2 separate regions of the Homo sapiens genome follow, and region 1 is linked to region 2. Evidence: promoter capture Hi-C in human tissues and cell types (Jung and others, 2019). All regions are on one chromosome and are shown on one strand. The core of a region is centred on a gene start or on the middle of the fragment in contact, and the rest is flanking DNA. Distances in the headings are between cores, read along the strand shown. Region 1 overlaps VPS35L (VPS35 endosomal protein sorting factor like). Region 2 holds the start of PDILT (protein disulfide isomerase like, testis expressed).

Region 1 (4,954 bases), core at 2,070-4,569, 810 kb before region 2:
ATAGCTTTAACTTTGGATTAAAAACAAAATCTTATTCCTGTTGTCCTTTATAAAATATATGTTCTATGAAACCAGCTTGGGAGAAAATCAATGCACAGATGTTTGGGAAGCCCCAGCTGTGTTTAATTTGAAATCCTCTGTTTAAATTCTCTCTCTCTCACCTCACCAGTGGGCAGTAACTCATCTCTGAGAGACTGTCCAAGCCCAGCTCTGGGTAGAACTCAGAGATGTCACATCCCTAGGAACCGAGAACTGTGTATTGTAAACAGTCTCTGAGATTTGGAGTTGTTAGCTTTTTCCAGCCTTGAAATCTCATGGGGGCAGCTGTTTAAGTTGGAACTCTCACAAAGGGCATATGAAAATCGCAGAGCGAGGTGTCAGGAAATGGAATTCCACATACATCCAGTTGCCACGTTTGGTGTCAGCACTATTGTTTTTACAGCTTACATTCCCGCCCCGCCCCCCCCCCCCCCCCCACAAATAACATTTGGGCTGTAAGGGGATGTTTCGCAAATCAGACACGTTGTTTACTTTTAGGCCTGTAATGCTATGGAGAAACTTGGTGACTCTAACAATTTAGATGTTGGGTAACAACACCAAACTGAAAACACATGTCAACCTATCTCTTGACATGGTGAACGTTCTCACCATTCTCTGCATATTGGAATTGCATATTAAATAATCCTTTCTAAATGTCTGAACATCTTTTTTTTAATTTTTAAATGACATTTTTCTTTCTGAGGGTCAACCATTGAGGTGATGAAGTGTGGCAGTTATTTAATTCCTTATGCTGACTTTTGAATTTGTAAAGTCTTCAGGGCATGGCATTAAATTTAGTTCTTCAAAGTAGAAAGAGCTTTTCTGTTTCTGATGATAAAAGATAATCAAAGGTGTTTGGGGCCACATTGTGTGACTGCGGTCTTCCATTAAAAGTCCTGAACGCTAAATAGCAGACGAGTACTCAAAAAAAGAGTTCTGAACATGTTGGCCGGGTGCAGTGGCTCATACCTGTATTTCCAGCACTTTGGGAGGCTGAGGTGGGAGGATTGCTTGAGGTCAGGAGTTCAAGACCAGCCTGAGCAACATAGTGAGAACCTGCCTCTACATAAAATTAAAGAAAAAAAATTAGCCAACCATGGTGGTACATACCTGTAGTCCCAGCTACTCGGGAGGCTGAGGCAGGAGGATTGCTTGAGCCCAGGAGTTCATTGCTGCAGTAAGCTATGATTGCACCAATGCACTCCAGCCCGAGCGACAGAGCAAGACCTTATCTCTAATAAAATAATAATAAAATTTAAAAAAATTAAATAGTCCTGAACATGGCTGTGACCCTTTGGCATGAATGAGAATGTAGAATTCAGCAATTCCCCGCAAAGCTGAAATGTTTTCAGCATTGAAGGTCATATTTCCAGAGTAACATGTATTCACTGAAGCTTATGTTCCTTTTGGGGGGAATTTGGGACTGAGTATAAATAATCAGTGTGAGTTTATGAAGCCTTGGGGATTTACTTATGGGGTCATTTCTTAGAAAAGAATGTTTAAGGATGCTGATCACCCTGAAATCAACAGAAGAAGCCAGTCTGCAAAGCAATTGAACAAAGATGGGGCCACAGATGAGGACTGTGATGAGAGAGATGTCATTCACTTCTCTCAGTGATTTTGAGTGCTTCCTGGTTCAGTATACAAGCAGGATCCTTTTGGATAAGGCTTTCCTGAAGAAGGTGATAGTGTATTTTCTTAAGAGACTGTTATGGGCCGGGTGCGGTGGCTCACGCCTGTAATTCCAGCACTTTGGGAGGCTGAGGTGGGAGGATCACTTGAGGTTGGGAGTTTAAGGCCAACCTGGGCAACATAGCGAGACCCCATCTCTACAAAAAAAAAAAAGGAAGGGAAAACAAAGAAGAGGTTCTGTTGTAAGCAGAGTCCGGCTCTCTCTGTGAAAAGCACAGTGGTTTAGCTTGTCATTGTATGCTCAGCACCTCGCACAGGCCTTGGCACATAGTAAGTATCTCAACTTGTATATAGAAACCATTAATTTTTCAGATCTGGAGTGTCCTACCCATACCAGACATGCCAGAGTGAATTTTCTCTTTTTTTCTCTTTTTTTAGTGTTCAAAGCTTCTTTCAGACACCAGTGTTATTCAGTTCTACCCAAGCAAATTTGTCCTTATCACCGACATACTTGATACATTTGGTAAGTACCTGTCATATGCATCTTAGATCTAGGAAATGTGTTCGTTTTGTCAAGAATTGGGTGGTAGAGTTACTGTAAATTAGGTTCTGCTGTGGTTTAAGTTATTAAGTAAGTCATGGGAGAGATCAAACCGTTCCCCCCCACGCCCATTAATAAGGGCGCTATTTTTGAAACATTCTAAAATTTCTAAAATTTTATTTTTTCTTCTTTTTTTTTTTGAGTCAGGGTCTTGCTCTGTTATCCAGACTGGAGGGCAGTGGCGCAGTCATGGCTCACTGCAGCCTCAAACCCCTGGGCTCAAGCCGTCTTCCTGCCTCAGCCTCCTGAGTAGCTGGGGCTACAGGCTCATGCCACCGTGCCCAGCTAAGTTTTTTTTTTTTTTTTTGGTAGAGACAGAGTCTCGCAGTGTTGCCCAGGCTGCTCTCAAACTCCTAGCCTCAAGTGATCCTCCTGCCTTAGCCTCCCAAAGTGCTGGAATTACAGGCATGAGCCACCATGCCTGGCCTGTTTTTCCTAATCTTGTGATAGACTAGTAAAGTGAATGAGTGAAGCAGGGCAGGCTGGGGGCACTAAGCAGCATGGGTCCCTTGCCGTCTCACAGGCACCTGAAACTGAACTTGGCATCTGTTCCCAGCCCTTTCTCTTTTCCCACTGAGTTTCTGTCTCCAGGAATGGCACCACCATGTACCCAGTTGCCTGAGCTGGGAATCTGAGCATCTTCCCCCACATGCCCATGTCCAGTCACCAGATTCTTCGGTTCAGCCTCCTAAAGCTCTCCCCAGCATGTCTATTTTTTTCTTTCTTCACTGTTAAAATTTTTTTTTTTTTTTTTGGAGATAAAGTCTCTGTCACTCAGGCTAGAGTACAGTGGCGTGATGTTGGCTCACTGCAACCTCTGCCTCCGGGGTTCAAGTGATTCTCCTCCCTCAGCCTCACCAGTAGCTGGGATTACAGGCACGCACCACCACGCCTAGCTAGTTTTTGTATTTTTAGTAGAGATGGGATTTCACCATGTTGGCTAGGCTGGTCTCAAACTCCTGACCTCAAGTGATCTGCCCTCCTCGGCCTCCCTAAGTGCTAGGATGACAGGCATGAGCCACTGTGCCCAGCCTCACTGTTAAAATTTTAATCCTAGCCACAGTCCTCTCCCACCTGGATAGCTTCCTGCATCACTGTGGCTGCCCCTAGTCCCACACACCACCTCACAGGTAGAGAGACCTTTTGGAGCCAGGTAGAAAGGTTTAGACTGAAGAGAATAACCTGGAGGAGCAGGAGGCCCCTGTGCTGCTTGGCAGTGGTTGGTTAGGCCAGAACATCGTGCCATTAGCAGTTTGCTCAAACCATGCAGCCCTCTAAGCTGTATATGATGTGCCCCACAGCAAGGCACCCCACCAGAACCAGGAAATAGGGGCGCCTTCTGAGAGCTGAACACGTGGAAGATCAGAACAGAGACATTCACTGTCTTACAGGGACTAATGGGCTCCCAACCCAGCAAATCTTATCTGTAAACCCATCGAAAGATACAATGTGTCAGAAAGCAGACTATCAATCTGAGAGACTCATTCATTTCTGTGCATCCCAGTCCTGTCCAAGAGACCGGAGGCCTGAGTGCGCTAGCTAAAACAAGTGACAAGAAAGCTAACTAACCTTGAAAAAGTGGGTCTTTATTGGCTTATGCTGAAAAGTCCAGGGGTAGTTTGGCTTCAGGTGCAGCTGGATCCAGGAACCCAAACAGTGTCATTAAGACCTTGCCCTTGGGCCGGGCATGGTGGCTCATCACACTTGTAATCCCAACACTTTGGGAGGCCGAGGTGGGTGGATCATCTGCAGTCAGGAGTTCAAGACCAGCCTGGCCAACATGGTGAAACCCCGTCTCTACTAAAAATACAAAAATTAGCTGGGTGTTGTGGTGCACACCTGTAGTCCCAGCTACTTGGGAGGCTGAGGCAGGAGAATTGTTTGAACCCAGGAGGTGGAGATTGCAGTGGGCCAAGATCACGCCACTGCACTCCAGCCTGGGCGACAGGGCGAGACTCCGTCTCCAAAAAAAAAAAAGAAAAGAGAAAAAAAAAGACCTTGCCCTTGGTTGGGTGCATTCTCGAGCTTCACAAGCTGTCCTCAGCTTCTGCTAGCTTTATTGCTAGTGGTCCCAGGGCATGGAAAGAGCTACTTTCTCCAAGCATTCCCACAGAAGTTTCAGAATCCCATCTTATTGGCCTGGCTTGGATCACATGTCAGTCCCTGAGCCAGTTGTGTTATCTGGGGGATGAAATGCACTGATTATCCAGGCCTGGGTCACCCCAAAACTAAAAGAGTGATACAGTTAGCAGAAGAAAGGGGAGTGGATGCTACCTGGGCAAAAAGAAGAGATGTCCCAGCTGACAGATGAGCCCTGATGGGTTCAGATGGCCCGGAGAGGTGGTATCAGGCTCTCTGCAGGCCACTAGGGAGGTGTCAGCAAACAGAAGGGATAAAAATCCTTGCCTTGGCTAGGCACAGTGGCTCACGCCTATAATCCTACCACTTTTGGAGGCTGAGGTGGTTGGATCACTTCAGGTCAGGAGTGCGAGACCAGACTGGCTAACATGGTGAAACCCCATCTCTACTAAAAATATAAAAATTAGCCAGGCTTGGTGGCAGGCACCTGTAATTCCAGCTACTTGGGAGGATGAAGCAGGAGAATCGCTTGAACCCGGGAGGTGGAAGTTGCAGCGAGCTGAGATCGCGCTGCTGCACTCCAGCCTGTGCCACAGAGCTGAG
Region 2 (5,172 bases), core at 484-2,983:
CTACTCAGAGGAGAGTGGCTGTCATGGGAAACTTTTATTAATGAGAATAGCCAAAATCGAGGGGCTGGTCACCAGCCATATTGTGCTGAGTGTCAACTGTGTGCATTCCCTCCACATTCTCCCTGTGTGCATTCTCCCTGTATGCCGTGGAGAGACCCCATGTCCCAGCCACTGTGGTTTCCCGCCAAGAGGGTGTGGTAACCTCCTTACTGATCCTGCCTCTGCTTCTACTCTTTGTGCTTCACCTCAACCCATTCCCCACACAACAATCAGACATTTCCTTTATTTTTATTTTTATTGTTTGAGACAGAGTTTTGCTCTTGTTGCCCAGGCTGGAGTGCAATCACATGATCTTGGCTCACTGCAGCCTCCGCCTCCTGGGTTTAAGCGATTCTCCTGCTTCAACCTCCCTAGCAGCTGGGACTACAGGCACCCGCCACCATGCCCGGCTAATTTTTGTATTTTTAGTAGAAACGGGATTTCACCATGTTGGCCAGGCTGGTCTCAAACTCCTGACCTCAGGTGATCCACCTGCCTGGGCCTCCCAAAGTGCTGAGATTGCAGGCGTGAGCCACCGTGCCCAGCAGAGATTTCCTTTCGACACAGGAATTCCATCACACCACTGTGCCTATCAAAAGGTGCTCACTTTTGTGCAAAAAAAAGCTTCTGCCTCTTTTTTTTTTACAATCCATTCGCAAAACCGCACACCAGCCAAACTGTTCTCTGTGGTCTACCAGGCCCCACTGGCTCTGGACCCATCTGACCTTATCGCCCTCCTCTCTCTCTCTCCTCCCGCACTCTGGGGAGCCACACTGGCCTCTTCCCTTTCCCAAGCACACCCTACCCGGGGCCTTTGCCTCTGTCTGGGGCACCCTTCCCTCACATCGTCAGCCTTTTCTGGTTCTCTGGGTCCTAGCTCGAATCCACGCTCATCAGAAGGGTCTTCCCGGGCCACTCTGTCTCACCCCATCTCAGCTTTCAGCACTCTCTGCCATATCACCATTGTTTGCATCATATTTTGTATTATTATTTATGAGTGTACTTTGTTGTTGTTGTCATTTTGAACTTTTTAATGTAAATACCATTGTTCACAGCTGTTTTCTCCCCTTCAGAACAGTGCCTGTACCAGATTTGGAACTCAATGAATGTTTGTTGAATGAATGAATGAATGGCCTAATTTAACTCTTACAGCAAACCCCATTGGTTCATTTCAGTGGTTCTCAACCATGACTATGCTGAGAATCTCTTGGAGAGTTTAATAAAAAATACTGATGTTCAAACCCAAACCCAGTAGGTTCTAATTTAATTGATCTGGGGTTGGGTGAGTCTGGGCATTATTATTATTTTTTAAAATCCTCAAGTTGATCCTAATGTGTAGCCATCTATACACCAAAACTGACACTTAAAACTTAAACTGGTGACTCCTGGTAGAGAAAAGCCTCCCAAGGCAGGGCCCATCAGTCAGATTTCCCATTTTCACTGAAGCTCATACCTGCAGGAAGCCAAGGCCACTCCCAGGGTTCCTGGGGCCAAGGTGGGGCTGTGCTGGGGGTGGGGCCACAAACTCTGTGGCCCTTAAGAAGGAAGGTTGTAGCCTGAAGAGGAGGCTCCTGGCTTCTCCTTGTGATCAGGGCAGGACCCGCAGACGACTGGGCATTCTAAAGAATCCACAGGCAGAAATGAAGTCCCTTCCTGGGCACACAGAGGCCACAGCAGCCTCAGCAGCAAAGTTCTGAGTTCTGGGGTTCTAGAGGACCAGGGGTGACCCTGTAGAAGAATGGGCCATTGTTGAGTAAGAGGGGGCCCTGCCTGGCAGCCCTTGCTGAGTTTGCTTGAGGGGCTAGAAACAAAACTCAGTGTGGGGTGCTGGGTATGGCCCAGGAGGGCTCTGAACTCAGTGCCTATAGATTGGAATTTGAATCCCAGCTCTGTCTTGAACAGCTGTATGGCCTTGAGAATGTCACTTACTCTTTCTGAGGTTCAGTTTCCATGCCTGTTACATGGCATCTAACTCATGGGGGTGTTGTAAGCAAAGTAAATTATGTGGAATTTAGAAGATAATTAATGATATGAAGAAAAATAAAACCTGGAAGGATGATGAGGAACGCCTGAGAGGGGGATGGGATAAAATAAGAGGATTTATGCAAAACGAGCAGCTCAGTACCTAGAAGGCAGGAGCCCCTCACGCATCACCACCCTGGCCTCATCTCCTAGGGGAGAAAGATCTCCACTCACCCTGCTCCAGCCACACTGGTGTCCCTGCCAGTCCTCCAATACAATGTCTGGGCCTCTACACTTGTGGTTTCCCCTGTTAGGGAGGCTCTTCACCCAGGTGGACTCAGGGTTCACCCCTTAGCTCGTTCCAGTCTTTGCCCAAATGTCACTTCCACAGTTGGGCCTTTCCTGGCCACTTTGTTTAAATTTGTAAGTGCCCCATCCCCCTCTCAGGCGTTCCTCATCCTCCTTCCAGGCTTTATTTTCCTTCATAGCATTAATTTTCTTCTAAACTCCACATAATTTACTTTGCTTACCTGGTGATAGGTGCTCAGTAAATATTTGTTGAATGAATAAAGAAAAGGCTGTTGATATTATTAGCATCGTTATTACTGTCAGAGTTTGCAGCCTTTGGCTATCTGCTGCCCAACTGTTATTAAATACTGATGGAGATGACTAACATTCATTTCACTAAATTTTAACATCTGTGGGTTTTAGTCCTAGCGCTTTGCTCTTCTCTTTCTTTTCTTTTTCTTTGAGACAGTGTAGTGGCGCGATCTCCACTCACTGTAGCCTTCACCTCCAGGGTTCAAGCGGTTCTCCTGCCTCAGCCTCCTGAGTAGCTGGGACTACAGGCATGCACCACCACGTCTGGCTAATTTTTGTATTTTTAGTAGAGACGGGGTTTCACCACATTGGCCAGGTCGGTCTCAAACTCCTGACCTCAAATGATCTGCCTGCCTCGGCCTCCCAAAGTGCTGGGATTACAGGCGTGAGCCACGGCATGCGGCCCCACTCTTCTCTTTCCATACTTAACTTCCATACTTTTGTTGGCTTGTTTAAATGCATGACTTCAAATACACCCCTTTATAAGTTACTCTCTCATTTACTCTCCAGGATTTGATCAATTGATTACATTTACTATTAAGACCGTTTTCCATCTGCCTATTAGAAAAGCTCTTTTTGGTTGAACCACACTCACTGAATATCTGAATGTCTTAATTTGAACTCATCATGTCCCTTTCAACTTTTCTTGGCAATTATTCCTTTTCTGGATGTTGTGTTTGCAAATAATTCCTGGGATGTGTTTGACTCTTTTTTCTCCCAGGCCTAAATCAACAATCTAGTCTGGCATATATTATTTTGACATCTTTCACACTTGTCAACTGTTAGTCACAAACTAAAACACTTGGGTTATTATCCCAAATGTCCTTCATTCATTTTCCTTCACTCTTGCACACAGTTGTTTCTTGACATAACATAGGCACTTTTATGATGATACTCATTTACTGATAAAGCTGCTGCTGCTTTTTTTTTTTTTGACAGAGTCTTGCTCTCTTGCCCAGGCTGGGGTGCAGTGGTGCAATCTTGGCTCACTGCAACCTCCGCCTCCTGAGTTCAAGTAATTCTCCTGCCTCAGCCTCCTGAGTAACTGGGATTACAGGCATGCACCACCACGGCCGGCTAATTTTTGTATTTTTAGTAGAGACGAGGTTTCACCATTTTGGCCAAACTGGTCTCAAACGCCTGACCTCAGGTGATCCACCTACCTCGGCCTCCCAAAGTGCTGGGATTACAGGCGTGAGCCACTGTGCCCGGCTTAAAGCTTCTTTTTATAAAATAACATTAATTTCTTTCTGATTAGAAAAGAACAGGATTTAATTTCTAAAACATAGAACATACAGAAAAAATGAGTTAATTGAAATCATACATCATCTTACTTAGAGAAACATTCATATTTTGTTACGTATGGGATTAATATATACTTTTTAAAAATAAAATTGTGATTATATTGTCTATAAAGTGTATCCAGTTCTTTCATTGAACATTTATGAAACATTTGTCATGACTTATGATTATATATTCTTCTAAAAAGTACTGATTGAGAGTAACGATATTGAGATTAGACTGCTGGAGAAATAATGTTCAACAGTCCGTCCACCCCTCTGAGGGTAGAGATTGTATCTTTACATCTGGCTGCAGATTCAGAGATGAGGTTGTATCCTGGGTCGCAGTAGAGGACTGAATGCTGAGCAAATGGACATTGAGGGCTCATAAGATGGTTCCCTGTGGCCAAGCTTGGCGGCAAGGGAGAGGAGCTGCCTGCGTGGAAATGGGCCAAACTGGCCAGGCCAGGAAATGAGACAGAGTCACAGGGGAACAACATACAGTGATGGATAAAAATCCAGGGTGAAGTTTGAATCACTGCAAAGATAGGCAGTTAATGGCTCAGCATCCTCTCTATAGGACACCCATAACCCTGTCATTTGCAACAACATGGATGGAACTGGAAGTCATTACATTAAGGGAAGTAAGCCAGGCATAGAAAGCAAACATTGCACATTCTCGCTTACCTGTGGGAGCTAAACAGGAAAACAAATGAACTCATGGAGACAGTAGAAGGACGGTTACCAGAGGCTGGAAAGTGTTGCAGGGAGTTGGAGGAGAAGTGGGGATGGTTAATGGGTACAAAAAAGTAGTAAGAGTGAATGAATAAGGCCTAGTATTTCCTAGCACAATAGGATGACTATCTTCAAAAATAATGTAACCATACACCTAAAATAACTACAATAGTATAAATGGATTGTTTGTAACACAAAGGATAAATGTTTGAGGTGATGGACACCCCATTTACCCTGATGTGATTCTAACGCATTGCATGCCTGTATCAAAATATCTCATGTAACCCATAAATGTATATACCTACTATGTACCCACAAAAATTAAAAATAATTTAAAAAGAACTTCAGAGAACAAACAACAAAAAGACCGGTATGGCTGGAGCAGACTGAGACAGGAGGTTTGAGGCGAAAGGCTCACAGGAATTCCTGTGGGGCCCTGTAGGCAATTGCCAGGACTTTTTTTTTTTTTTTGAGACGGAGTCTCACTCTGTCTCCCAGGCTGGAGTGCAGTGGCACGATCTCGGCTCACTGCAACCTGTGCCTCCCAGGTTCATGC

What was found. The method cuts DNA at HindIII sites, captures the fragments that hold promoters and counts their contacts. A contact is called where the count stands out against the background at its distance.
Region 1: a contact is called between a fragment that was not itself captured here and the fragment with the promoter of PDILT in region 2, in 3 of the 25 tissues and cell types used here (aorta, hippocampus and lymphoblastoid cells).

What each region holds. Positions count from the first base shown.
Region 1 is chr16:19,589,681-19,594,634 of GRCh38, forward strand. It overlaps VPS35L (VPS35 endosomal protein sorting factor like), which reads left to right. Exons shown (of 31, transcript NM_020314.7): 8 at 2,110-2,194. Among named protein-coding and RNA genes, the nearest start is that of VPS35L, 36 kb to the left of the region's middle. The HindIII fragment of the contact is 7,605 bases long and covers 1-4,954 here.
Region 2 is chr16:20,403,004-20,408,175 of GRCh38, forward strand. It overlaps PDILT (protein disulfide isomerase like, testis expressed), which reads right to left and starts at 1,734. Exons shown (of 12, transcript NM_174924.2): 1 at 1,493-1,734. The HindIII fragment of the contact is 3,912 bases long and covers 145-4,056 here.